2 separate regions of the Homo sapiens genome follow, and region 2 is linked to region 1. The links are contacts of gene promoters, found by promoter capture Hi-C in blood cells and fetal thymus (Javierre and others, 2016). All regions are on one chromosome and are shown on one strand. Each heading gives the region's core, a stretch centred on a gene start or on the middle of the fragment in contact. The rest is flanking DNA. Distances are from core to core; before and after follow the strand shown.

Region 1 (3,718 bases), core at 10-2,509:
CCGAAGGAGCTCAATAAATGTTCCTTCCTTAAGGCTTCCCATTGGAGTTTCCCTGAAAGCCCCCTATTCCAGCCCACTCCGAGGGCGTCTCCTTCCCGTAGCAGCTACAACCGTCTGGGGAGAAGGAAGCCAAACTCCTTAAACAGGACACCTCACTCGAGAAGGAGCGAAGTTGGCAGGGCAGAGGAAAATTGCAAATGCGCGGAGCTTGGGAAGAAAGATTGGGCCAGCCAGAAACCTGGAGGGGGAGGAAGTCTCGAGATGCGCTTGGGGTGCCAGATAATGGGGATCAGAGATTGGAGAAGTGACACTTAGGGACAAGAGGTTGGGAGCAAAGGTGATGGAGACGGGGGCGACTCAGGAACGGCAAGAGGATTGGAACGGGACCGGGGACCTTTCTTGGAAGTGCGATAGATTTTAAGTATTTGGCGTGGCTTACAACTACATTCCCATAGCAAGCACACTTTTTACTTGCATTGTGTGTTTATTTGTGGGGCTGGTGGGGATTATGGAGGCTGAAGTCCTCCGCAAGCCACTGAGCTATAAGTGAGTAGCAAGATGCGCTTAAGGACTCGCAGAGATGGGGGCAGAAACGGTGGACCTTACACTTGGAAGGGAAGACTGGGGACTGGGTAGAAGAGGAGAGGTGGAGATGCTTGCAAGAGAAGAGAACGGAGGAAGAAGGAGAAGGGAAAAGAAGAAAGCCAAACTTGCCACTCTCCCGCTCCCGGGCCAGCCCAGCGTCTCCAGTGCCCAGCTGCCGCGCCCCGGCTCTCGCTCGCTCGCTCGCGTACCTGTTGCTCGCTCCGGCTGGGTCTCGGCTCCGGCCCCACCAAGAAGCCCCGCGTTCCTACAAGTTCCGCCTGCCGAGCAGCCAGGCCGCCAGCGCCGCCACCTGCGCGGCCGCGCACAGCCAAGGCCAGTAGGTGGGGAGCGCGCCGGGCGCCGGCGCCCTCCGGCTCCGCGCGCGGCGCCGCCACATGGTGCGCTGGTGCAGCTCGTCGCCTAGCGCCTTGAGCCGGGCGGCGGTGAGCTGCGCGGCGGACGAGCGCAGCCCCAGGCGACCCGCGCTGCAGGCGCACACGGCCGGGGGGCCGCGGCCGCGGTGCAGGGGGCACGGGCACATGACCGCTGGCCTCGCTCCCGCCCCGCGCTCGGGCCGCCCCTCGCCTCCTCTCCCTCCGGCCTCTGCGCCCGCTGCCGCCGCGCTCCAGCCGCCGGGGGCCTCCCCTGGACACCAAGTTTCTCCTTGTGTTGTGCGTTTGTTGTGCTGACGGCGCTATTATTAATTAAAGTGTCACATGGTGGAGGGGGGCGGGGAGGGGGGTTACATCATCCGGCCCCCGGGGGTTGGGGGGGGGGCTGCAGGCAGAAGAAACCGAGAGGTAACTTTTAACCCTAGCGGCGCCGGCAGCTAGGGAGCGCGAGGTTTGGGAGACGGGGAGCGCGGCGCGGGGCGGCGCGAGAAGGCTCCCCGCAGCGGAGGTCCTGGGCTTTGGGGGTCTCGGGGGACCCCCGCGGAGGCGCGGAGCGCGAGGGAAGGTTGTTCTCCTTCCCCTTTTCCTGAATTCAGCTCGAGTTCCGATTTGGCGAGGGAAAAAGGCTTGTTTGCCGTTTTGGATGAAGCTGATGCTGAATTCGGCTGCATTATTCAAAAATATTCCGAGGCTGTTGTTTTGTTTGGGGGAGGTGGGTGGATTCAAAATCTTATGGAAGGGTCAGATTACACCCAACTTGCCTCGTTTCAGGTCTGACTTGGCACCTGTAGGCTTTCAGCCTGACCCTAACGTGCCCCCAGCGCCTGGCTAGAAACCTGACCCTAAAGTGCCCCCAGCGCCCGGTGGGAGGCTGGATGGGCCCACCTGAGCTCGCGTGGGGCGCGGACGGAGGCATTCTCGCTGCCCGGCACCCGCACCCAAAAGACCCTCGCAAGGGGCTTTCTAAAGGGAAACTTCTTGTCTGCTTTCTTTGTGAACATTATTTTCCTGATGGCGTTACAGTTTTCTGCGATGACCCCGATTTAATGCGCAGTGGAGACCCTAAGGGGTCGGCGAGAGGAGGGGCGCGGGGGACTTTAATTCCCCCTTTTCCAATCCGACAGCCACTCCTGTGCACCTCCAGACTGGAGCGTCTGCAGTTGTCACAAACGGTGAAGGTTCAGATGGGCTGGGCGGCTGTCAGGATTCTGTGGGGGAGAATGAAACCTGTGATCTTAAATCGACTGGGATTCAGACAACTTTGGGATTCAGACCATCGGGATGAGTCCAGAGATGGCTCCAAGTTGGGAGTCTGGAACCTGCTGAGGGAGCTTCCGTTCTTGCCTTCCCACCGCAGAGTATAACCAAGATTCTTCGAGTCTGTGAACTTAGTTTTGGTCTGAATTGATCAGGAGGAGAAATGTCCCTTTTGGCCCACAGCGTGGTGAAATGACAACAAAGTCAGGGCTCAAAGCCCACAACACTGTGTGATTCTGGTGGCCTTTTCCCTCACCCAGCTCCAATTATTCTAGGCTTCATAATGGCCAAGACCTACTGCGCATCTTCTATGTCTGGCACCTGTGGGCTTTGGGCGCCCTTGCCTCTGCTGCCTAAAGGTAAATCTCCCAACAATTCTACATGCAATTACTATAATATTTCAAAGATGAGGAAGCTGAGGCACAGGTAGGTAAGGGTTCTTGCCCTAGCTCACAGAGTAGCTAAGAATGAAACCGTCATCTGAACTAGGGCAGTATGCCGCAGGCTCTAAGCTCTTAACCACGGTTTTATACTGCCCCCTGTAATCTGGGAATAATAATACCTCCATCCCAGGATTGGGGCAGAGATTAAATGAGAGAAATGTGTGCCAAGCACCTGGCACGCAGTGGGCCCTGGATAGACCTTGGTTCCCTTTGCTTCTCGCCAGAACCACTTCCCATTCTCCTGGGACTCACCTCCTTAATCCCCCTAGTCTTTACAGAGGGGACCTGATCCATTGCCCGGGTGTAGCGTTCCAAGAATGAAGACACAGTGTCTATTTAAAAAGCCCTTTGGATTTAAATTGAACAATTCCCTCCCCCCATTTTTAATCTGCACGCTTTTAACGGCTCACTTCATGGACATTAATTTTAATGGGACGATTATTACCCTGTTTGGAAGCCTGCCCCTCGAAATGCTGGGCTCGCAAGGTGGCGCTGGGTCGGGTCCCAGCAGCTTGGATGTTGTCTGTAGAAGAGGGGGTGCAATCTTGGCCGTGGGGATGCAACGTTCAGCAGAGGGGGAAGAGAAGGGGGTGATGAAAAAGTGGGAGAGAAGGAAGGACCTCTCTCTCCCTGACACTCTTAAGTCTGGCAGTCCTTAATTTGCACACATGAGTTATCCTGTGCTATTGGACCACTTACTAACTGGGGAGCATGGCCTTGAGAGGTGGCTTTTTGGAGCCTCCATTCTCTCAACTGTAAAGTGGGAATAATAATAGTACCCACCTCCCAGCCTAAATACCAGGAAAGCCCTTACTTAGCACAGTGCCTCCTGGCCCATCATTAGGTTTTTTGTTTTTTGTTTGTTTGTTTGTTTGTTTTTTAGACAGAGTCTTGCTCTGTCACCAGGCTGGAGTGCAGTGGCACGATCTTGGCTCACAGCAACCTCCACCTCCAGGTTCAAGCGATTCTCCCGCCTTGGCCTCCCCAGTAGCTGGGAGTACAGACACCCGCCACCACGCCCAGCTTATTTTTGTATTTTTA
Region 2 (3,375 bases), core at 793-3,292, 160 kb before region 1:
AAAGGGCCCTCACTTAAGACTTGGGCAAATGAGGTCTATAGAGAACTGGGTTCCAGATACTTGGGAATCGGTGCCTTTTGTGGTAGTTGTTGTTTATGTTATTCTGTCTTCTAAATTAAGAGAGGATGATTCTAATGCTATAGTAAATGTTTCTTGGGATTCTTCCTATTTCTACTCATTTTCTTTTCAGGGACTAGAAACAAACACAAAATGTAATTAAGTTAGTTAGCATTTTCCTCAAAATTCTGCTCAAAATAATAAACACATAGCAACTGTATATAATGTGACCTAAACTCTGCCAGTTGAAATTCTCTTTCTGCCTTTTACTTTTCATCTTGTAAGTGTCAGCATCTCAGGCATCCTTTTTTTTCCCCACTGCCAACTTACAGTATTCAGCCTTGAAATGCAGCTCTTTCTAGCTTGGTGAAAGCAAGCTCATCAAGAACTCTCATCTTGTATCAGACATCTACTAACTCAAACGTTATCTCCAACAAGGAGTCCTGTAAGATCACAACCTCATACTGTGTTGCTATTGCCTTGAAAATTAACTTCCAGCCTTTGAAAAGTTTGTAAATGCAAATGATCTTATTTAATAATGTGTTACCCCGGCAATATTCACAGTGGCATCTGCTTGCTAAGAAGCGTAAGTTCTTACATGCTTTCTTTACTAAACTACTTACTTCACCCATACTCATGGAGAAAAATAAAACCTATAGCTCTTGGATTTTTATTAATTGATTGATTCCTTCACTCCTGGAATTTTTTACTCAAAGAGTCCAAGAGTCTCTGTCTTACCCAAATTAATCAAAAGAATATTCTTTCACTAGCTATGATAAAAGATGACAAACTGTGCTCACAACCCAGCACTAAAACATTAAAGTGAGAGTGTAAGATTTCATGTTTTCTCACTGAATGTCACACATCCTGTAAGAAGCCCTGAACTCCAAGTCAATGTCTGCCCACTGACTATGTCATCTTATGGAAGTAACTTCCTTTTGCTAAACTTCACTCTGCTTATTAAAAAACAAAACCCACATTATTTTCAATATGATTTGCTTTTTCAATGTGATCTGAAAAATATAGCTTGTCACTGGCATCACTGCTGAGTTGGGAATGCATTCTGGTCAGTCAACAAGTACATTTCTTGAGTGTCAACACAATGTGAATTTTACTCAGGTTACCAAGAAGGAAAACTGAGCTCTTATCCTATAGAGTTCACCCTCGAGATGAGAAAAAAAGATTGGCAAGATGGGGAAATAGTGAGGCTGGGGAGAGATTGTCAGAAGGGGCCTGGGGACTGATGCGTGACACAGTGCTCATGTTGTAAGTTGTAGGCAGAAAGAACTTTTAAGAGTTAGAGTTATCAAAACAAGCTTCTCTGATGTTGAAGGGAACCTTGAATGATGAGTAGGGTATAGAAGACAAAAACCTGGGGAATGTTGGAGATGAGCGAGGAGAGAAAATGTGTTGCAGAGGAATCCCTATTCAAACAAAAACCCTATGAATGGCCCAACCAGCCTACGCTCCTGACCGCCTGGAGAGGAAGGGAAGCCAGCCTCACCGAGTTCATCCGTGATGAGGTGCTTCCCTTGAATGGAGTTGCGGCACTGATTGCTCGGACGACTGCTATTGCCCAAGTTAAACTGCACTTTCCACGGGATGGGCTGATTATGGTCATGAACCTGGAGGAGATTCCTATCTCTCACTGCCCTCTCCTCCTGCAAAGAAACCATAAGTGAGAAGGTTAAGTATCCAGTATCCTTTCTTACAATTTCACCAGTTTTTCACAGAAACTACAGTAAGAGGACAGAAATACTATAAAAGGCTTACACTACCAGAATCTGCCCTCTCCTGGTACAAGCAAAGCCTGAGCCAAAGTCATAAAATAAACCTGTAGGAAAAAGTAATAAGCTAGTGCTATGCTTGAAAACTGGCATACTTACATGCGTGGCTCCTGGATGGCATGCACATCATAAATGTGTATAAAAGTGTTAATTTTATGAAAAAATTGGAGAGGAAAAGTTTTGGACTTTTTCTTTCTGATGGCAAGTAATTTAAAATATTTTTCACATTAAAACAAATACATTGTGGAACAGAACTTAAAATGTGAATACACTTTTTAAAGAGCAGAAGAAACTTTCGTGACTCTCATCTCAGACATCTAGAGCACAAAATCCCTTTCATTTGCAGTTACAGGTACTTTGGGTGGAAGACGTTTGGGAAAACGTGAATTAGGACATTGATTTTAGGAGCAAAATGAAGCATGTCAACTTGTGAATTTCTTCTGTGAAGGACCACTGAGTATGTAACCCGCTACGGAACACACCCAGGCCGGCCAGCCCTCTACCCGGACAAGCAATTGGAAGAGTTGCCCTGGAGTCAAGAGTTGAAGATCATCTCTTCTGGTCTTGAAGCTATGTCCGCTAGGAGCCAGCTTACAAAACTGCCTTTTCTATACTGTTTTCTATACTGTTATAATCTTTTCTATACTGTTAAAAAAAAAACTAAAGAGGAAGCTGCCTAAGTGCTAGAAAACAAGCCGAGCTTGAGACGGCCTCTTCTGAACGCTTCAGTAAGCTACTGGATAATAAAACAATGATGGACTTGAAACATTCACTGTTCTAACGGAGTTCTGTGGCTTTTACCTTTCAAAATAACCTGTCATGTGTTGCTTTTTAAGCAAAAGGGACTAATCTTGAAAATTTGATGAAGAAGCTTATATACTTAAAAAATGGTAAAGATCTTTATCGTTACTAAAATTTATCTAGGAAAGTAATCTAGGAAGTTCTGTTCGTATTTTAAAAATATATGTCTACATACACTTTGGCCCAGGAAACTCAGGTCTGTCCTATGGAAAACACCAATGTATAGGGAAATACAAGGATGTTTACTACATGATCGTTTCGATGGTATAAAAAACCTGAAACCTGCCGGGTGTGGTGGCTCATGCCTGTAATCCCAGCACTTTGGGGAGGCCGAGGCTGGTGGATCACCTAAGGTCAGGAGTTCAAGGTCAGCCTGGCCAACATGGTGAAACCCCATCTCCACTAAAAATACAAAAATTAGCCGGGCGTGGTGGTAGAATTGCATGAACCCAGAAGGTAAAGGTTGCAGTGAGCCGAGATCACACCACTGCACTCCAGCCTGGGTGACAAGAGCAAAACTCCATCTCAAAAACAAACAAACAAAACCCCTGAAACCCCAATAACAGAGAAATGACTGAATGAACACTGGTATAACAATACTGTTACAACCAAACTGAGATACGACTGATAGCTATTTAACTAGAGTAGCAGCTCTACAAACTGACTTTTGCACATTAGATTAATGTAGGGAGCATAAAAACAAATTCTGATTCCTAAGCCCACCTATGGG

Evidence for each region. The method cuts DNA at HindIII sites, captures the fragments that hold promoters and counts their contacts. A CHiCAGO score of 5 or more calls a contact.
Region 2: a contact is called between a fragment that was not itself captured here and the fragment with the promoter of HRK in region 1, in 1 of 17 cell types (total B cells). The highest score is 5.4, in total B cells.

Annotation. Positions count from the first base shown.
Region 1 is chr12:116,880,182-116,883,899 of GRCh38, forward strand. It overlaps HRK (harakiri, BCL2 interacting protein), which reads right to left and starts at 1,260. Exons shown (of 2, transcript NM_003806.4): 1 at 795-1,260. The coding sequence starts at 1,126. The coding sequence ends at 851. RefSeq lists a silencer at 868-947 and an enhancer at 1,453-2,414. The HindIII fragment of the contact is 8,246 bases long and covers 1-3,718 here.
Region 2 is chr12:116,721,506-116,724,880 of GRCh38, forward strand. It overlaps SPRING1 (SREBF pathway regulator in golgi 1), which reads right to left. Exons shown (of 5, transcript NM_024738.4): 2 at 1,562-1,718. Among named protein-coding and RNA genes, the nearest start is that of SPRING1, 15 kb to the right of the region's middle. The HindIII fragment of the contact is 1,342 bases long and covers 1,372-2,713 here.